Linked DNA regions of Homo sapiens: regions 2, 3 and 4 are each linked to region 1. Evidence: promoter capture Hi-C in 16 types of primary human blood cells and fetal thymus (Javierre and others, 2016). All regions are on one chromosome and are shown on one strand. Each heading gives the region's core, a stretch centred on a gene start or on the middle of the fragment in contact. The rest is flanking DNA. Distances are from core to core; before and after follow the strand shown. Region 1 holds the start of BMS1 (BMS1 ribosome biogenesis factor). Region 2 overlaps CSGALNACT2 (chondroitin sulfate N-acetylgalactosaminyltransferase 2). Region 3 overlaps RET (ret proto-oncogene). Region 4 overlaps RET (ret proto-oncogene).

The links. Contacts are between HindIII fragments. The CHiCAGO score rates a contact against its expected background, and 5 or more counts as called.
Region 2: a contact is called between a fragment that was not itself captured here and the fragment with the promoter of BMS1 in region 1, in 1 of 17 cell types (monocytes). The highest score is 5.4, in monocytes.
Region 3: a fragment that was not itself captured here is called in contact with the fragment with the promoter of BMS1 in region 1 in 3 of 17 cell types (naive CD8 T cells, total CD8 T cells and total CD4 T cells); the score reaches 6.6 in naive CD8 T cells.
Region 4: a contact is called between a fragment that was not itself captured here and the fragment with the promoter of BMS1 in region 1, in 7 of 17 cell types (naive CD8 T cells, endothelial precursors, monocytes and 4 more). The highest score is 7.4, in naive CD8 T cells.

Annotation. Positions count from the first base shown.
Region 1 is chr10:42,780,080-42,785,299 of GRCh38, forward strand. BMS1 (BMS1 ribosome biogenesis factor) reads left to right here and starts at 2,716. Exons shown (of 23, transcript NM_014753.4): 1 at 2,716-2,751; 2 at 4,283-4,491. The coding sequence starts at 4,316. RefSeq lists an enhancer at 2,547-2,896. The HindIII fragment of the contact is 6,696 bases long and covers 1-4,443 here.
Region 2 is chr10:43,167,626-43,172,845 of GRCh38, forward strand. The region is part of intron 6 of CSGALNACT2 (chondroitin sulfate N-acetylgalactosaminyltransferase 2); the gene reads left to right. Among named protein-coding and RNA genes, the nearest start is that of CSGALNACT2, 32 kb to the left of the region's middle. The HindIII fragment of the contact is 3,243 bases long and covers 938-4,180 here.
Region 3 is chr10:43,128,695-43,133,914 of GRCh38, forward strand. It overlaps RET (ret proto-oncogene), which reads left to right. Exons shown (of 20, transcript NM_020975.6): 20 at 1-1,657. Among named protein-coding and RNA genes, the nearest start is that of CSGALNACT2-DT, 7.1 kb to the right of the region's middle. RefSeq lists enhancers at 1,640-2,240, 2,241-2,841. The HindIII fragment of the contact is 4,128 bases long and covers 785-4,912 here.
Region 4 is chr10:43,102,816-43,106,368 of GRCh38, forward strand. It overlaps RET (ret proto-oncogene), which reads left to right. Exons shown (of 20, transcript NM_020975.6): 4 at 2,137-2,378. Among named protein-coding and RNA genes, the nearest start is that of RET, 28 kb to the left of the region's middle. RefSeq lists enhancers at 1,956-2,707, 3,197-3,296 and a silencer at 2,707-2,936. The HindIII fragment of the contact is 7,011 bases long and covers 1-3,553 here.

The sequences.
Region 1 (5,220 bases), core at 1,466-3,965:
TTTTTAACAACCAGATCTTGTGAGAACTCTATCATGAGAACAGCACTAGATGAATGGTGCTAAACCTTTCATGAAGACTCTGCTCCCATGATCCAATCACCTCCCACCAGGCCCCACCTCCAACATTGGGGATTACAATTCCACACGAAATTTGGGCAGGGACAGACCCAAAACATATCAATAACTGATACAGATGGCATATAAAACTGAGACAGAATTAGATCATCCAGGGAATAAGTATAGACACAGAAGAAAAGAAAACTGAAGCCCGAAACCTATGGCCTCACTCTAATTTAAACAGGTGAGAGCAGGGGAACCAGCAAAAGCAGCTGAGAAAGAGCATCCAGGGCTGCAGGTGGAGTCCTGTGAGACAAGTGAATCAAAGTGAATAGGAGAGGGGCCAGAGTATGTATTGACTGTTCTTTTGTGAAGTTTTGCTGCAAAGGGGAACATAGAAAAGGTGCAGGTCCTGGTATAGGAAATAGGGTCGAGTAATTTCTTTGTTTTGAAGATGAGAGAAATAGCTGCATGTTATGTGACGATGAGAAGAGTCCAGTAGAAAGGAAAATATTGCTGATGTTGCAGAGAGGATAGGCTGGCTGGAGTGACACCCTGGAGCAGTAAGAGATGATGGGATCCAGCAGTCCAGTGCAGGATTCTTTGGGTGGACCTAGCAGTTGTTCATCCACAGTCACAGGGAGGCAATAAGAGGCGGATGGGTGGAGGTGGACGTGGGAGTCTGTGGAAGACTTTTACCACTTCTATTCTCTTAGCAAAGCAGGAGGCAAGGAAGGGAGAGGCAGTGGGAAGGATTGAACAGAGAGGAGGAAGTGCGAAATACTCACTTGGAACAATGGGAGATTGAATAGACCAGGCAAAGAATGATTAAAGTGAGGACGGCTGGCATGGTCCTGTTTTCCTCCAGCCATGTTTAGTTGCATCGTCGTGGCATGGAATAGATGGAGAGCTGGGTTTATCCAGGGCTCCCATCTTACCAAGCAGATAGGAGATGACAGGGAGGTGCATGAGTTGAGGAGGTGTGCAAGGGATCAATGAGAATGGTTGGCCATTGAGTTTAAGCTGGCTCACTAGAGAGGGTCATAAAGGAAGAAACAGTGAACAAGTAGTAAGATCTTGATTGGAGGTGCTGGTAAGGTTGCAGGAGTTTTGTTTCAGGGCAGTATAGGGAGTGACCTGGACAGATAGGAGGATAGATAGACCTGGTCAGAGTGGGATACTGTGGGGGTTGCAGTCCTTGGACCTGACAAGGTCTAAGGTCTGATCATGGAGGGAGGGGGAAGCTGAGGTAGGGCAGAGGACAGGAGTGGGCTTCATGAGACCAAAAGGATGTTGGAAGGATTATCTACCTGGATACTGAAATCTTCAAGAAGTAAGAGGTGTAGTGTGAAGAAGTTACAACACTCTAAGCTCTTCAGGGATAAGGGAAGCATGTGCCACGTGGGTAGCCTCCCAAGTCCAGCACCCAGTATCTAGAATATGCAGAGTGAATACCTGGGGGCTGCTGAGGGCAAGAACAAGGTGCCTGTGAGAAGACCTGACGCCTGGGGTTCTCGTGACAGGAGTGGGCCTAGTTTTTGGTGTAGAATTGAGCCTTGAATGCACCAGCGGGATCATATTGAAAAGAAACCCTCCAAGACTAAAGGAAGATGCATCCTCTGACAATGTACGCTCTGTAGGCTCCCAAGTAGCTGGGCTGGGGATTAGATGGACTCCAAGGCATTTCCTCAGGTGGCAATGGGCGGATCCCTGGGAAGGTAAAGCTGTGCAGTAAGAAAACGGCAAGATGCTACGTTCACTCAGGTAAAGCCCCTTTCCCGGGTTTAGGGAGGGCGAGGCAGTTTAGGCTGGGTCAGTTTGTCCCTGCCCTCACGGTTTGTTGGTCCTGGCAAAAGAGGGCCTTATGTTATTTATTTTTCTTAGAGACAGTGTCTTGCTCTGTTGCCCAGGCTGAAGTCCAGTGGCTCATCTCAGTTCACTGCAGACTCCGCCTCCTGGGATCAAGCGATCCTCCCACCTCAGCCTCCAGAGTAGCTGGGACCACAAGCACCACAGGCGCCCGGCACGATGCCGGCTAATTTTTTTTTTTTTTTTTTTTAAGAGAGAGAGGTAGGCTCCCTATGTTGCCCAGGCTTGTCTTGAATTCCTGGGCTCAAGCAATCCTCCCTCCTCGGCTTCCCAAAGTGTAGGGATTACAGGCGTGAGCCACTGCGCCCTGCCAAAAGAGGGCTTTAGGGCACCCCAGAACGCGAGATCCCCCTCATCTGTAATCTTTAAAGAGGAGGAAGTGTACTCCAAATCAAGCGATAGTCCATTCGTCCTTGGCACGGTGACTGCCGGGAGGCCAGGACCAAATGTGTCTCCTTCCGGCTTTTGCACCACACTAACTAACCGGCGCCAGGCCGCAGAGCCGCCCTGGCCTTCGGCGAGAACTCAGGCGAGCGCGGCGCACGCTGCTCCGGAGTCCCACCGCGGAAGTTGAGGCCGCGGATTCCGAGGGCGGGGTGGAGAGGAATCTGGAAGGACCTGGACCCGGTGGAACGCACTGCGCGGACGGCGCCTGCGTCCGCACTCAGCTGTTCAGCCCTCTTTCTTCAGGCTCTCCCCTGAAAGCCGTCCCCATGCCGGTCTCTTTTTTCTGCCTTCTTGTTTCCCTCCGGCGAGTCAGCGCGACTGTGAATTTCCGTTTCCGGCGGTGTCCATGCTGACCTGAGGAGTCGCGGCTGCGAGCAGGTTCGGTGCTGCGGGTTGGGGTAGGCGGCGGTGGGGTCCCTGGTTCTGGGGCACTGGGAAGATCGCGAGTCGTGCGTGTGGGAAGGTCCTCCCCCGGTCCTCCGGGTCATCTTTGCTCCCGAGGAGCGGCATATTTCTCATCTGGCGGAGGTGTCCTGGGGTAGTTGGGTGAGTGACGTGATGAATCCCTGCAGAGAGCCCAGACGGGGAGGGAAGGTGGCTGGGCGACGTCGTTTCCTGGCGACGTGGTCCCGGTAGGAGACTTAGACCTGAGCTGGATCTGTTGACCCCAAATTGTGCTTTTCCCACCAAGAAGAAAGACAGGGAGAGAAACATTAGTACAAGTGCTGAACTAAAATATAGCAGAGAAGAAACATAATCTCTGAAATCACACAGCTATTCGGTTTCAAAGCGTTCCTAGCGCCCAGCTCTCCTAACTCCTGGCCAGTGTTCTTGACATTATGGTAATACATAAAGACTTTGTTTCCGCTGGTGTGTGTCTGTGGGAAGCCTCTGACTCACCTCCGTGCTCCAGTAGCACCCTGTGCAGCCTTCCAATGTCGCCCTTATTGCGTGGCGCGGAAGATAATAGTTTGGATTTCCTCTGCAAGTCAGATAATAGCTGTATCCACTTACTGGCACAGTGCCTAGCACATCGTAGACAGACACAAATATTTATTCAACGGAATGAATACAGTACCTTAATTGAATGAAATGGCATCCTGCTCCGCTTTTTTTTTTTAATCAAGCTGTCAGATTTTATGCAGCCCGATTTCCTAAAATAACTCACTAATTCAGTGATTGCCAATTTATTAGCCACAGATTCCCAGGTAACTCAGAAATCACTGGAAGGGTCTCTGTAAGTTCATGGGGTCTCCAGGTGTCATCTAGAACCAGTCCTATCTCACACGTACAGCTATTTCTATTTTTCAAATGTATGTAGATAAGTTGTAATTTAGGAGTTTTACAGAGTCAACAGGTACTAAAAGTAATACTGCGATCATATTGGAGGTTCATAAAAACGTTTCACATTTTTTTATTAAAATTTAAGTTTTAGTTTAAGTTAGGAAACCACTTCATCAGTCCAGTTGATACCTGGGTCTGAGCTGTCCAGTATGGTAGCCACATGTGACTATTTGGAGTTAGAATGAAATTAATTAAAAACTCATTTTTTCAGTTTCCCTAAGTATATTGTAAGTAACCACATGTGGCTAATGGCTAAATGGCTGAAAAGTACAGATATAGTATATTTCTATCCTTGCAGAAATAGATACTGCTGATGTTGACACTTAAGATGAATAAAAAGTAACTTAACCATAAAATGTAATCTTAAGAGAGGTAACTCATCTAATTTATAGCATAACAGAGAGAAATGAAATTGGGGATGGTTAAGCAGTTTCTACCCTTGTTCAGTGAACAAATACATCATCTCTTCATAAAGAAATAAATGAAATTTACTGTTTTTCCCTGGGTATTGCCTGGATTGTAAAATGCTTCTCCCATCTCCTTACCCCAACCTTCTTCCTTGTAGGTTAGAGTTACTTGTTATTGGTAAATAGCCACTATGGAGGCTAAGGACCAGAAGAAACACAGAAAGAAAAACAGTGGACCCAAAGCTGCAAAGAAAAAGAAGCGGCTTCTGCAGGATCTCCAGCTAGGAGACGAAGAAGATGCCCGGAAGAGAAATCCCAAAGCTTTTGCAGTTCAGTCTGCTGTGCGGATGGCTCGATCCTTTCACAGGTATGTTAGGCTACGGTCTGGTCATTCTTCCATTGATTCTTTTTTTAAATAGTAGGAGCCTCTCACAGGTGACATTTGGATTCACGAGTCTAGTCCAGCTCCAAAGGACATGGAGATTCATGGTGTGTGGCTTTCACTAAAACGTGAGAAGCTTTTCCCATAGAAGCTGCCTTGCCTCCAGCATCTGCATACTGGTTAGTGTTTATTGCCCAGGATACAAGAATTTATAGACTTTGTTTGTTCCTAAATTTTAAACTGTTTCTATGGTGATAAGTGTGCTTTTTCCCCCCAGGTATGTTTTACATAGTTGTAATATAAAATACAAAAATTACAATATTTAATACTAACATAGCTTTATTTAGTGAGCCCTTGTGATATGCCTAGCAGTGTACTTTAAACATTATTCAACTAAATCCTTCCAGCAGCCTTACCAGAGTAGGAATCATTCTTGCCCTCATTTTATGGGTAAGAAAACTGAGATCAAGAAAACAAGTTACCTCCAATCATATAACCAGTAAGTAGGAGAGCTAAATGTAACTCCAGCGCCTCTGCTCTTATCTGCTATGATGTACTGCCTCGCTATTTACCTTTTGGTTTTTTAAAAAACTATTAAAATCACTCTTAAAACAGTCAGATTTAAGGAGTGTTTAATTTTCGCTCTCTATAGTATTGAAGTCATCTTGTTACATCTTTATTGAACAGCAATTATTTGGATGGGGCCAGAAGTTA
Region 2 (5,220 bases), core at 1,309-3,808, 390 kb after region 1:
TACAAAGAGTTCCATACTTCACCCAGTTTCCTCTAATGCTAACATCTTATGTAACCATGGTACATTTGTCAAAGTGAAGAAATTAATATTGGTAAGTTACTGCTAAGTACACTAGGATTACACCAGTTTTTCTACTAATGTCCTTTTTCTGTTTCAGAATCGAGTCGAGAATACCAAATTGCTTTTAACATAATCTTTTATTATTAATACTAAGAAAAAGTAGAAATGATTAAGAAGTCACTTTAAGATGTTTAAAAAAATGAAAAATAACTTCAAGGAAAGTAATAAAGGCAGAAGTTAATAAAACAAAAATAGATTGAGAAATATAGAAGCTTATGTTTATGTACAAAAAATTTAATCATAAAGTAGACAGATTTCAGGTAAAAAGGAAAACATTGGAAATTAGAATATGAAAACATTGAGATAAATCAATTTTATAGGGTAAGTTTTCTAAATTATAAATAAATGAAAGATTTGAGAATTTATAAAATATGAACACAGGCTAAGTTCATGTTAGTATTTTATGAATAAAAGAGGTGCAAGTGGGCCGGGCATGGTGGCTCACGCCTGTAATCCCAGCACTTTGGGAGGTCAAGACGGGTGGATCACAAGGTCAGGAGTTCGAGACCAGCATGGCCAATATGGTGAAACCCCGTCTGTATTAAAAATAAAAAAATTAGCCAGGCGTGGTGGCACGAGCCTGTAGTCCCACCTACTCAGGAGGCTGAGGCAAAAGAATCACTTGAACCTGGGAGGCGGAGGTTGCAATGAGCCAATATCACGCCACTGCACTCCAGCCTGGGTGACAGAGTGAGACTCCATCTCAAAAAAACAAAACAAAAAAAAGGTGGAAGCTCTGAAGAAATTAAGAGCCATTTAAAAAACAGTTATCAAAAAGTTACCCTGTAGGTATATAAATACAATGTTTTAATTTATAAGCTTTTCCAGACTCTCAAAGAGCAGGTAATATTAGCACCATATGATGTACTTAACATATTTTATGAGGCCACCATTATCTTCATATCAACACTTGGCATAGTACACACAGACACACACACACACACACACACACACACACACACACGCCTCTACCTTATCTATAGGCCAGTATTATGAATATAAATACAAATAGGTTCAAAATGGCAAACTGAGCACCCACGTCTGCCATATCTGACGGTGAATTATTCTGAAGAAAAGGGTACATTAGTACTGGAAAATGAGAGAAGGTGTTAGCAGCCGTAAGTCTTGAGAACTTTCTGTAAGACGATAGCAGTTAGCGTAAGATTTCTGGAGGAGAGAACAGACTAGAATGTGTTCAAGAGAACAGTGAGTGAAGATGGGGCTGCTTTGCATCCTCTGAGCTCATAGCAGACAGAATGGAGGGAGCCTGGAATAAACATGCTTCTCTAGGTGTGCTGAGAAGCAGGCATCACAGGGATTGACCCTCAGTCTAAGGCAGTGCATGTGGTCCCTGGAGCTGGAGAGGCTGGTCGGGGTGGCTAGGGAGCCCCTAGACTACAAAAGTGAACTACTGTTAGCGCATTCCCCCTGAGACCCTGTTCTAATCTCCTTGACTGTGACTGGAGATAGGCCATTGTAATCAAAGCTAACAGCCATGGACTTCTGAACAATACTTGAAACAAAAGTGAGTAGCAATTAACCAAGACTAACCAAACATTTGAGGAAAAACAATACTATGAAAGAGGCACCAAGTGTTAATACACAGAAAAATTAACACATGAGTATATGAATACAGATAGAAAGTAATTTTAAAATATATCTTTGAGGAGATTAGAGAAAATGTTAAATTCATAAAACAGGATTTGTTGCTTTAAAAAATCAGAACTTGGAAATTGTGAAAATATTTTTAAAATCAGTAAATGGTCTGAATAGCAGAATGGTTACAGTTGAATCAAATTTGTAAACTGGAAGACAACCCAACTGGACACGTAAAGTTCACGAGATAACATGAGAGAAAAATTAAGACAAGGAAGATCAAGCCAGAAGCTCCCAAATTATTAATAGGAGTTCAGAAAAGAGAGAATATTGAGTGGAGGAAATGGAAGAAAGTTTCCAGAGCTAAGCAGAAACAAATCTTCTGGTGTTTGGAGAACAACAGTAAAAGGACAATTCTAATAGCTTCCAGAGACACTAAAAATAGCAAAACCCAGTTTGTTCACAAAGGAGTGACAATCAGATTGGCATTCGTCTTCTTTTTGAAAACACTGGTGTTAGAAAACAATAAAGCAATACTATGAAAATTCTGAAGAAAAGTAACTTTGATTCTAGAATTCATATTCAACCTACTATTTTAGGACAAAATAGACATTTTTGAGCTTTCAAGGACTCAGAATTTATTTCTCAACAGACCTTTGTAATCGAGTCCAGCAAAATGATAAATGTATACATTGAGAGAGGAGGACCTGAGAGTAAATAGTGGTGAACAACCAAAAAAATTAAGTCTAAACATTTGTTGATGTAATAGTGTAAATAGTTATGTTGACATAATAAAAAGGCAATTAATACCAATTTGGGATTAAGATGTCAGCGGGTTATGTACATGGTATACTTATGTGTATTACCTAGCTGTCAGCTGAGAGGGCCTAGAACCAGTGACACCCTAACAGTAACAAGTACACTCAGCTTCCAAATCTTAGTTTCTAATACTATTCTCCAATCAAACGAGCCAGAGGTCCACGGAGAAATGGTTGATTCCAGGGCAGGGGCAAAAAATATACAAGAAGACCCTGGAGCATCTTACAGTGCCAGAAAGTAAGAAAGCACTCAATAAAAAGATAGGGGGAATATGTCGAAGGGGCACAGGAGCCAACAGAAAGAGCTCCCAGTGCCCAAGCTGGAACAACCTGAGCAATGAAATAAATAACTTAAACCTGGATTATAACCCAAAGCATCAAGTAAATAGCCATGAGTCTATACTGATACAAATGAGTGAGTGAATGAGCAGATAAATATTGAGTGACTAGACTAGATAGGAAAGAAAAGTTAAGTCTTCCTTACAGAATTCCAAATAACTTATGTAGATACTCCCTCTTCCAGTAGGTGGAACTAGGGGACTCACTTTCAAAGAACATAGTATGGAAAGAAAAAACAAACTTTTCACGGGAGAAACCCAGCAGACACCTTAACCAAGGGATACCATGTACCCATGACATGACATAATGAGAAGGACACTTTAGCTCACAGTCCTCTTCCAAAAACGTAGATAACTTCCCCAGGAAAGTCACAGGGAAAGCTGCAGCAAGCCCACATTGAGGAGCATTGTACAAAATACCTGACCATTCTTCCTCAAAACTGTCAGGGTCACCAAAAACAAGACTGAGAAACCATCATAGCCAAGAGGAGACTAAGGAGACATGACAACCAAATGCAATGTGGTGCCCTGGACTAGGTCCTAGAATAGAAAAAAAAGACAGTAAAGGGAAAGCTGGTGAAATCCAAATGAAATCTGGAGTTGAGTTAAATAGTAATATAGCAATGATGGTTCCTTAGTTTTGACAAATGTACCACAACAATGTAAGATGATAACATTAGGGGAAGCTAAAACTGGATGAGGGGTATACAGGAACTCTCTTTACTGTTTTGCAACTTCTTTGTAAATCTAAAATTATTCCAAAATAAAAGGTTGTATATTAAAATTAATTAAAACAAAAAGAGGCAAATAAAGTCAACATAGAAGCGTGAAGGGAATGTAAAAGCATGCTAATACTCTTTTTTTTTTTTTTTGAGATGGAGTTTCGCTCTTGTTGCCCAGCCTGGAGTGCAGTGGCATGATCTTGGCTCACTGGAAACTCCACCTTCCCGTTTCAAGCGATTCTCCTGCCTCAGCCTCCCAAGTAGCTGGGATTACAGGCACACACCACCACGCCCAGCTAATTTTTGTATTTTTAGTAGAGATGGGGTTTCACCATGTTGGCCAGACTGGTCTCGAACTCCTGACCTTGTGATCTGCTGGCCTCAGCCTCCCAAAGTGTTGGGATTATAGGCATGAGCCACCGCACCCGGCCAAAGCATGCTAATATTCTTGCCTGGTTTGGAGGGTTGTAGGGGAAGAATGATTTGAATGCTGATTCATTCTAGGTGTTGCATAGCAACTTAAGTTTAAGCACTTCAAGTTCTAGTTTCACCACTTGTAACCTTTGCAAGTTGCTTAACTTTTCTAAGCTTCAGTCTCCTCACTTAAAAGACAAAAACTTGTTTTCCTTGATGTTTAAAGCTATATTAGAAGTAAATAAGAAGGAAAAAAATGGGTAAGACAGTTGATAATTCACATATTTAAATAGTCAGCCTTACTAGGAATAATTTAGAACAGCAGTATAATGCTTTGTTTCTGCTGTTAGGTCACTGCTTTTAAAAAGCAAAGCCATGTGAGCAAGACTGGGGGATGGGAGCTCCTCCGTCGCTTCTGTTGGGGATTCAGGCCAGTTCTCTGAGTCGAGTTCTAAACAGATTCATCCCTCTGATCCAGTAATTTCCACCCCCAACAGTCTTTCCTGGGGAAGTAATCGAGCTACATGATGGTAATATGCATAAATTGATAACATTAAAAGCAAGCAAAACTCTAATAATAAAAGGATAAATTGAATTATGGTACATTCTCTGGTGAATATTGCATATCAAGGAAAATGTGAAAAATGTAAATACAGCCGTGTAAATGAAGAGGAAAATGTAAAGCTAAAAAGCGGGAAATAGCGTATCTATATTTTAGGTAACATTTAAATGATGATAATAGCTAATATTTTTATGAACCCCTTACTATGTGCAGGGTACTTGTTCTGTTTTGCCTACACATTAATTCATTTAATCCTCCTAACAACCTCTGAGGTATGTAGTATTACTGCCCCATTTTTCACAGCTGTGCTGCAGTCGAGTGCCTGTCCAAGTACACACTGGCCTGAGTAGGCCCAGGAGGCTGGGTGATGTGGCTCCGCAGCCTCCACTCCTGTCCACTGTGCACACTGCCTCTGTTATATTAATTCATCAAATATTGAGGGTCCCTTTGATGCCACGCACTATCCACCACTGGCACCCTGACACTTAGACCCTAACAGATATGGCTGTTGCTCGTGAGGATCTTTATTTATTAGGAGGTGACAGAAAGTAAAATCAGATAATGCATGCCACGTGGATCATTAAAACAGACTGAGTTGCAAAGAGTGACTCCGTGGTTTCTGTGGCTTGTTTGGTCAGAAAGGTGTTTCT
Region 3 (5,220 bases), core at 1,599-4,098, 350 kb after region 1:
CACAAAAAAGGCAGTAGGAAAAATGCTGGCCCTGATGACCTGTCCTTATTCAGAATGAGAGACTGCGGGGGGGGCCTGGGGGTAGTGTCAATGCCCCTCCAGGGCTGGAGGGGAAGAGGGGCCCCGAGGATGGGCCTGGGCTCAGCATTCGAGATCTTGAGAATGATTTTTTTTAAATCATGCAACCTTTCCTTAGGAAGACATTTGGTTTTCATCATGATTAAGATGATTCCTAGATTTAGCACAATGGAGAGATTCCATGCCATCTTTACTATGTGGATGGTGGTATCAGGGAAGAGGGCTCACAAGACACATTTGTCCCCCGGGCCCACCACATCATCCTCACGTGTTCGGTACTGAGCAGCCACTACCCCTGATGAGAACAGTATGAAGAAAGGGGGCTGTTGGAGTCCCAGAATTGCTGACAGCAGAGGCTTTGCTGCTGTGAATCCCACCTGCCACCAGCCTGCAGCACACCCCACAGCCAAGTAGAGGCGAAAGCAGTGGCTCATCCTACCTGTTAGGAGCAGGTAGGGCTTGTACTCACTTTAATTTGAATCTTATCAACTTACTCATAAAGGGACAGGCTAGCTAGCTGTGTTAGAAGTAGCAATGACAATGACCAAGGACTGCTACACCTCTGATTACAATTCTGATGTGAAAAAGATGGTGTTTGGCTCTTATAGAGCCTGTGTGAAAGGCCCATGGATCAGCTCTTCCTGTGTTTGTAATTTAATGCTGCTACAAGATGTTTCTGTTTCTTAGATTCTGACCATGACTCATAAGCTTCTTGTCATTCTTCATTGCTTGTTTGTGGTCACAGATGCACAACACTCCTCCAGTCTTGTGGGGGCAGCTTTTGGGAAGTCTCAGCAGCTCTTCTGGCTGTGTTGTCAGCACTGTAACTTCGCAGAAAAGAGTCGGATTACCAAAACACTGCCTGCTCTTCAGACTTAAAGCACTGATAGGACTTAAAATAGTCTCATTCAAATACTGTATTTTATATAGGCATTTCACAAAAACAGCAAAATTGTGGCATTTTGTGAGGCCAAGGCTTGGATGCGTGTGTAATAGAGCCTTGTGGTGTGTGCGCACACACCCAGAGGGAGAGTTTGAAAAATGCTTATTGGACACGTAACCTGGCTCTAATTTGGGCTGTTTTTCAGATACACTGTGATAAGTTCTTTTACAAATATCTATAGACATGGTAAACTTTTGGTTTTCAGATATGCTTAATGATAGTCTTACTAAATGCAGAAATAAGAATAAACTTTCTCAAATTATTAAAAATGCCTACACAGTAAGTGTGAATTGCTGCAACAGGTTTGTTCTCAGGAGGGTAAGAACTCCAGGTCTAAACAGCTGACCCAGTGATGGGGAATTTATCCTTGACCAATTTATCCTTGACCAATAACCTAATTGTCTATTCCTGAGTTATAAAAGTCCCCATCCTTATTAGCTCTACTGGAATTTTCATACACGTAAATGCAGAAGTTACTAAGTATTAAGTATTACTGAGTATTAAGTAGTAATCTGTCAGTTATTAAAATTTGTAAAATCTATTTATGAAAGGTCATTAAACCAGATCATGTTCCTTTTTTTGTAATCAAGGTGACTAAGAAAATCAGTTGTGTAAATAAAATCATGTATCATAAAATGTGTAAACTTTTTTTCTTTTTAACATTCTAGTTGGAAACAACAGATTTCTGATTTTGTAGTTTCCATACAATATTTAAAACATCACAAAGAATTCTATCATGATAACCACTGAGGCATCAATAGTGGTCGAGGACTAGGGGCTCTGGAGATATCGCTGGCTTATCTGGTACATTTGCGTGTGAATAGGCACATTGATAGAAACTGAAAAACTCAGCTAACTCCACTGTTCAAGGAATCCCTTCCTTAAAAGTGTCCATCCCTAGAACAAAGCAGCAGCCAGTGTCAAGTTTAGGTCTTCACAGTTCTCTAGCAATTTGCTTGTTGCTGATCTTTTGAAGTTGGCCTTAGAGCTGTGGGAGACAGAATACAAAATGCCAAGTCCTGAGGAAGGCCATTAGAAGTGTGAGGGAAAATGCTGTCCTGAACCACCATGAAGCCTGACATACTCACTACTTCTGTTTATGTCTTCCCCGAGGAATTCTCTGAGCTTCTCATGCCGGGCGTGGAGCTGATGGGTCAGTGGGCAAACGGGAGTTGTTGTCAACATCAGTCTCATCTGCGATTGCATTGTGTCAGATGCCAACGGCCTGTGTCACACACATACACGTGTGTATACGTGGGCCTTTGCACGCCTCGCCAGGTGGTGTACATGCAGGCCTTGGCACGCCTCGCCCAGTGCCCGCCCCAGGCCCATGAGGCCCCGCTTCCCAGCCGTGGGTGTCTGTGTCTGCTCACGGCTTCCTCCTTCAGCCTGGACCACGGGCTGGAAGTGAACGTAATCTCCAGAGCCAGCTGTTTGCTGTAGCCTTTACCTCTGAAAGTAGAAATCTACGCCAAGAAAAGTTAATGCTAAAAGCCACCCCTAATGTAGACTCTACATTAGGACTATTTGTGTGTGTATGTTTGCTGTTTTATTTTCCCCTAAAAACACATTTTCTGCCAACCTTCACGAAGGATTTCTTCCCACCACGAGGCCAGCTTATGTGGGCAGAAATCTAGTTGAATGTGCCTGAGAACAGGGCTTGAACAAATACTTCATACACAAAAGAAATTTTGAAGGGAAAGCATAATTTCTAACATATAAAGAAAGCCTCTCCCGCAGGCAGGTGGAGCAGTTAGCGGTGCCTCTCTCTGCCTCGGGTGCGTTCACGCATAGTGTCTGGCACACCTTGTTTTATTGCTCTTTGCTTTATTGCGTTTTTCACAAATTGAAGTTTTGTGGCAACGCTGAGTCGTCGAGAAAGTCTATCAGGGCCATTCTTCCAACAGCCCACACTCACTTCATGTCTCTCTATCAGTACTGTTAAGCAGTAAAGAATCTTTAAACCAAGGTATGTACATTGTTTTTTAGACATAGTTCTGTCACACACTTAACAGACTCCAGTACAGTGTAAAGTGTAACTTTTATATGCACTGGGAAACCAAGAGACTTGTGTGGCTCACTTATTTGGGATCTTCAATCTTCTTTGCTTTACCGGAGTGGTCTGGAACAGTATCTCTGAGGTTCGCCTGTGTTTAGTGGTCCTCACAACTGGGGGGTGGTTCTAGGAAGTCCTAGGGAATCCTAACCTCTGTGGCCCTGAAAAAGCAGAAAGGTGGGTCTTCAGGGTGCATGCAGCAGTGTGCGTGGCCCCACACGTCTTCCACATGAAGATGCTCCAGGTGCAAGTCCTAGGCTTGTGCGCCTGCAGGGAAAGCACCCTCTCTGCCAGGGCTCCTGCTGTGGCCCTGTCCCTTCTCCATGGCAGCAGCCTTGACCGAAACTGTGTAGAGTCTCCCACCTCTTCAGGGAGCTGGGACTCAGGAAGGATCATCTTAGCTGAGGTCATAAGAACCTGCATGTAGAGAACTTTTCAGCGTGGGGCCACTACTGTGTCCTGCTGCTGAGGCCAGGTAGTGGCCGTCTGAGGGCTGCAAGGGCAGGCTGCTCCCAGGAGTTAAGGAGGCAAACACTCTGAACACCCTGGAGAAATCACAGTTTATCTTTGCAACTACAAATTTGAGTGCTGTGTCAAGTGACCAGGTATTTTTGCAGATGTCTCTGAGGTGTTAAATCACAGGACCTGGCCAAGCAAGATCTCTCAGCTGGACCCCGGGCAGGGGATCCTTTATGGGGGCACATCTCACTGTGGGGGCTGCAGAAATGTGAAGGTCATCATGGAGGGAGCTTGCGGTCTGAAACTACCCCAGCCACTGTGACTACCACACTGGGAGAGATCATAGACCTGCATCCTCTCAGATGACACTGAGCAGTTCAAGCTAAAAATGTGCTGGTAAGCAAGGTAAGTGAATTCTAAAGCTAAAAAAAATCATTTTTCATTTTCTGAGAAGGAAACAAGTTTGATATTTCATACACAGACAATATTTACCATGCAGACTGTCAATTTCTTGAATAAAAATATGAAATTCATTTAAAACATTCAAGTTTTTGTGTATTTTTCTCAATGTATTAACAGAAGAGCAACCTGTTTCTTGGCTGCTCGATTGTCTCACCTGCACATCAATCCTTTTCTATACTCTCCCATGGAAGAAGGGGTCTCCAGGGGCAAGAGACTTTGGTCAGAGGACTGCAGGGAGCCAGGCAGCACCCATGTCTTGGAGCCTCCCCTCTCCCTAGGGCGTGTGCCTTGCTCCATATTTTGTGCCTTTCTTCTGGGAGTTTTCAAGAGCTTGAGAATTTTCCTGGAGACTCTGGCCACAGGGCCTGAAGCTCTTAGATTGCTCAGAACCCCATGGTAAAGGAGCACACTGAGGGTTTGGGGGACTTCAGTGTCTGGGAAGAAAAGTAAGATCATAGCAAATGATTTCTAAAAATAAGAATGACACCAAGGATGGAAGAGCTGTAGTGTCTCACAAGACAGTCACTGGAAAAAGTAGAGGAAGTGTGGTTGGACACTATTTTTAAAGAGATATTCACACAATTACCTCTAATCTTTAACTTTGTAGAAATAAGCAAAGGCTACCCATATGAGAACCCACAGGAGCCACTGGTTCTGAACTTGCTATAGCAAGAGAGTCAGCCAGGATCACTTACTTTTGGCAGACACTCAAAAGCAGGCAGAGGAGTGGGAAAGCCTTATAGTAAAAAATAAAAGGTGGGGAGGGTGAGGAGAAGCCTTCAGGGATGCTGTGATTGGGGCTTGTTGGCCTGGGGAAGCTGGAGGCAGCTAACCAGGAGGAGGGCCTCTTATGTGATTGGTTTGGGGGACACAGGTGGCTTTCTCTGTTTAGTTCAGTGGGCAAAAAATAGGGAAGCTTGCAGTTCCTGACCAAGTCCTAACCATTCTGGGATAATTGTTACAGAGGCTGTGGTTTGGCTTCCTGGCTAGTTCTGCAGAGAATCTGATTCAAATCCTCTGGCCGTATGTGGTCTGGCCATTGTCTGTTTGCATGTTCAGTCTCTTAGTCCCCCTTGTCGGTCATTTTCTTGTTTGTAAAAGGTTGGCCAACTCAAGGAAGTCTAGAGATCCAGCTCTTCACTGCTCAGAGATTATTCAGTTGTCTCTCTGGTCAACCGTATTGTGAGATCTTGATCCTTCTGTTGTTATAGCATCACAGTGC
Region 4 (3,553 bases), core at 344-2,843, 320 kb after region 1:
ATGAACACAACGGGTTGGAATCTTGCCTGCCTGCAGCTTTCATTCTTGTGGGGCAGACAGAGCGTCTGAGCATGCCAAGGAAATCAGGTGGCTTCTGGAAGGAGCTAGCTGGGGAGGAAACTGGGAAGAGGGAAACGCTGAAGAGGAGGGGAACAGACGAGGAGACCTCCATTCCTCTATCGTAAATTGGGTGGTCAGGGTGGGGGCTAGCAGAGCAAAGGTGGGAGGGTGCCGGGTAGGCAGGCCTAGCCCCTTGGAGGGCACCACAGTGTGACCCTCGTGTGCCTGGAGTGCACTGAGCGACAGGGAAGAGCTGAGGCTGATGGGGCAGAATAGTTCCTGGGGCAGGGGGCAGGTCTGGGAGTGGCTTGCAGGGCTTTCTCCGGAGGAACATGGGGAGCTATGGAAGACTTTGGAGGGAGGGAGTGCTGGCAGGACCTGACTTAGTTTTAAAAGGATTAGTCAGACTACTGTGTTAGGAATGGTTTGGGGTGGGAAGGTTCAGGGGCGAAGCTGGGAGACAATCAGAAGGCTACAGGAGAAACCTCTGAACAGGAGGATGTGGGGTGTGATGCCGGGATACGGGTGGAAGCCGAGGCATGGCGAGAAGCAGGCAGCTGCAGCCAGTCAGAGGGTGGGATGAGCTGGATCCCAGTGGAGAGGGGAGAAGGCAGCTGACTAGGTGCAGGGAGGCCCCATTTGACCATCAGAAAGTCAGGAAGTGGGGCTCAACCAGGTCACAGAGGCTGCACCGCTGGCAAGTGTGTCCTAAATTCACACTAACTTTATCACACAAACATGGCAAGAATATTAAAATCTCAGTAAAGGAAGACAAGCCATCACTTATGCTTCCCCAGATTCCTTTCATTCTCTGGGGCAGGGTTGATGGAGCACTTGGTTTTTTGCATGCTGCCCTTTTTCACTAAAAATTATGTGATTAAATTTAGTTTAGTGGGGGGTTTTTTGTAATCACACTCAACAGAGGAAAGCATTATATGATAAGCATTTCCCACATACGTAATTCATGCGCAAGGCATGGTTCTGCCTGGGAGGCTTGTGGAGTTGCCCCCGCCTCCTTGGGGTGGGTTGTGGGGTCTTCAGCGGTGACCTTCCGCCTTCAGCATGCCCCCTTTTCTGGATTATTTCTGGAGGACAAATCCGAGGTCAGGCTCGTTGAAGACTGTGTTGTGGTTCCTGGCCCTGCTTCAGGGGCGATGTAGTCTAGCGCGAGCTGCCATGCAGGGCACGGAGCATTCGCTTTTGTCTCGACATCCGGCCTTCAGAGGATGACCAGCCTGGCGACGCACTGGACAAGGAGGTGTAGAGTGGGGATGCACACTAGGCGGTCGGAAATCATTATGCGTTAATGTCACATCATACCCCAGATGTCCACTGTGTTTGTTTTCAAGTGGTAGAATCGTGGCTTTCTCACGTTCTCTAAAATGAACACATATTGCTTCCATAATTGAAAAAAAAAAAAACCTAACAGTTTTTAAAAAGCAGCCAAGGTCACCAATATGGTGAAAGGCCGTCCCTACTAAAAATACAAAAATTAGCCGGGCATGGTGGCGGGCGCCTGTAGTCCCAGCTACTCGGGAGGCTGAGGCAGGAGAATCGCCTGAACCCGGGAGTTGGAGGTTGCAGTGAGCCAAGATCGCGCCACTGCACTCCAGCCTGGGCAACACAGCGAGACTCCATCAAAAACAAAAAAAAAGCAGCCAAGGCCAGTAGCTGGCTCTCTAGGGCTGCAGTGCAGCTTGGGCTGAGGCAAAGCCACCCTTCCCCACACAAGGCCACTCCTGATCAAGGCCAGGTGGGCGGAGGGGTGTCCCAGTCCCTACTGGTTGATCAGGGTGCCTGGTCCTGGCTCTTCCCAACCAGCACGAGTGAGGACGCAGCTGCAGCAGGACGTAAGCACAGTCATCGCTGCAAACTGCAAACTCGTAAGCACAGTCATCGCTGCAAACTGCAAACTCGTGCTCCGAGCGCTGCCCTCCCCTGTGGAGCGGAGGAGGGGAGGCCTGGGGCCGCGGCGGTGTGCGCCCCGCTCTGACCGCAGAGCCCCCTTCCCGAGGAAAGCGGCTGGCCCGGTCCCGGCTGGTGATCACGCGGGGCCCCTGTCTGCTTGGTGCGCAGGTGAGGGTCTGCCCTTCCGCTGCGCCCCGGACAGCCTGGAGGTGAGCACGCGCTGGGCCCTGGACCGCGAGCAGCGGGAGAAGTACGAGCTGGTGGCCGTGTGCACCGTGCACGCCGGCGCGCGCGAGGAGGTGGTGATGGTGCCCTTCCCGGTGACCGTGTACGACGAGGACGACTCGGCGCCCACCTTCCCCGCGGGCGTCGACACCGCCAGCGCCGTGGTGGAGTTCAAGCGGAAGGAGGTGCTTGTCCGCGCGTGCTGTGGTCTACCCAGTGTCTGTCTCCGGCCACAGTTCGTTTCTCGGTCGGTTTAGTGTCCGTGTAGCCACCCAACCGTGTGGCCGACCATTCGCGCTTTCATTTGTCCTTCGCCTCCGTCTGCGCCGTCTGTCCTAGGGGGAGGGGAAGGGGGAGTCCTGCCAGCACCCAGCTGGGCCTTGCCTCGGGAGGCAAGGACCAGGACGAGGCCCGAGGGCTCGCGTCTGGGGCATACTTGTGCCGCTGCAGGCGGGCGCGGCGCGCTGCCCGGGCGGGGAGCATCTGCCGGGAGGGCACTCCCTCCCACCAGCAGTTAGCCCCCAACGGGAGGGCCCTTGAGTGACCACGAGCAGAGCCGGGGATTGGAGAAGGACGGGAAGGCGGATCACCTCCGGCGCCGCCCGCCCCGCCCTTCTCCGGCTCGCGCTGGTGGAGCGCGACCGCCACCTGCTGGGCCTCGGCCTTCCTGCAGCCGGCCCACCCAGCAGGGGCCGTGGGAGAGTGGGCGTGGGGACTGAGGTAGGTAGTACGTTGCCTTGTTCCGCTTCTCTGGGCACACCACGTGCAGGTTTGGCAGGGAAAGGGGGTCTGGTCGAAAGCACAATTTGTGAGTAAAGGCTATGTGGGCCTCCCTGGGGTGACAGCAGAGGCCTGGTGGGCAGAGCCATCCAGGTGCCCAGCGGCTTTCCTCACAACCCCCTCCAGCCTGGGGTAGGAGGATGCTTGGAACAGAGCGCTCTGATGTACACCTGGCCTCGGAGCTCGGCTCTGCCGGCTGTTCCTGTGTGACCTTGACCTGACCTTCACCCTGTGGGGCCCAGCTTCCTCAGGGGAGAGTGGAGGTGCTCATCCTGCTCTCTGGGGACCTGGATGGGACCTGCCAGCAGGGTGCCTGGGCATCGGCTGTAATTCTCCTTATAAGAGGTCTGCATTGTACCTGTTACACAGGCGAGGCTCAGTGGCTCAGGGAAGGTGACGGCCAGGCTGGCCAGTGACCCCGTGGGAACTTGAACCCAGGTCAGACTGTCCCCAGACCTGGCTCTGACAACACACATCTGGTCCACCTATGGGCTGTGTGGGACGTGCAGCATTCTAAGGTCTCTGGTTTTGGGGGGTCTGAGGGGCCCATCTCGCCTGCACTGACCAACGCCCTCTGCAT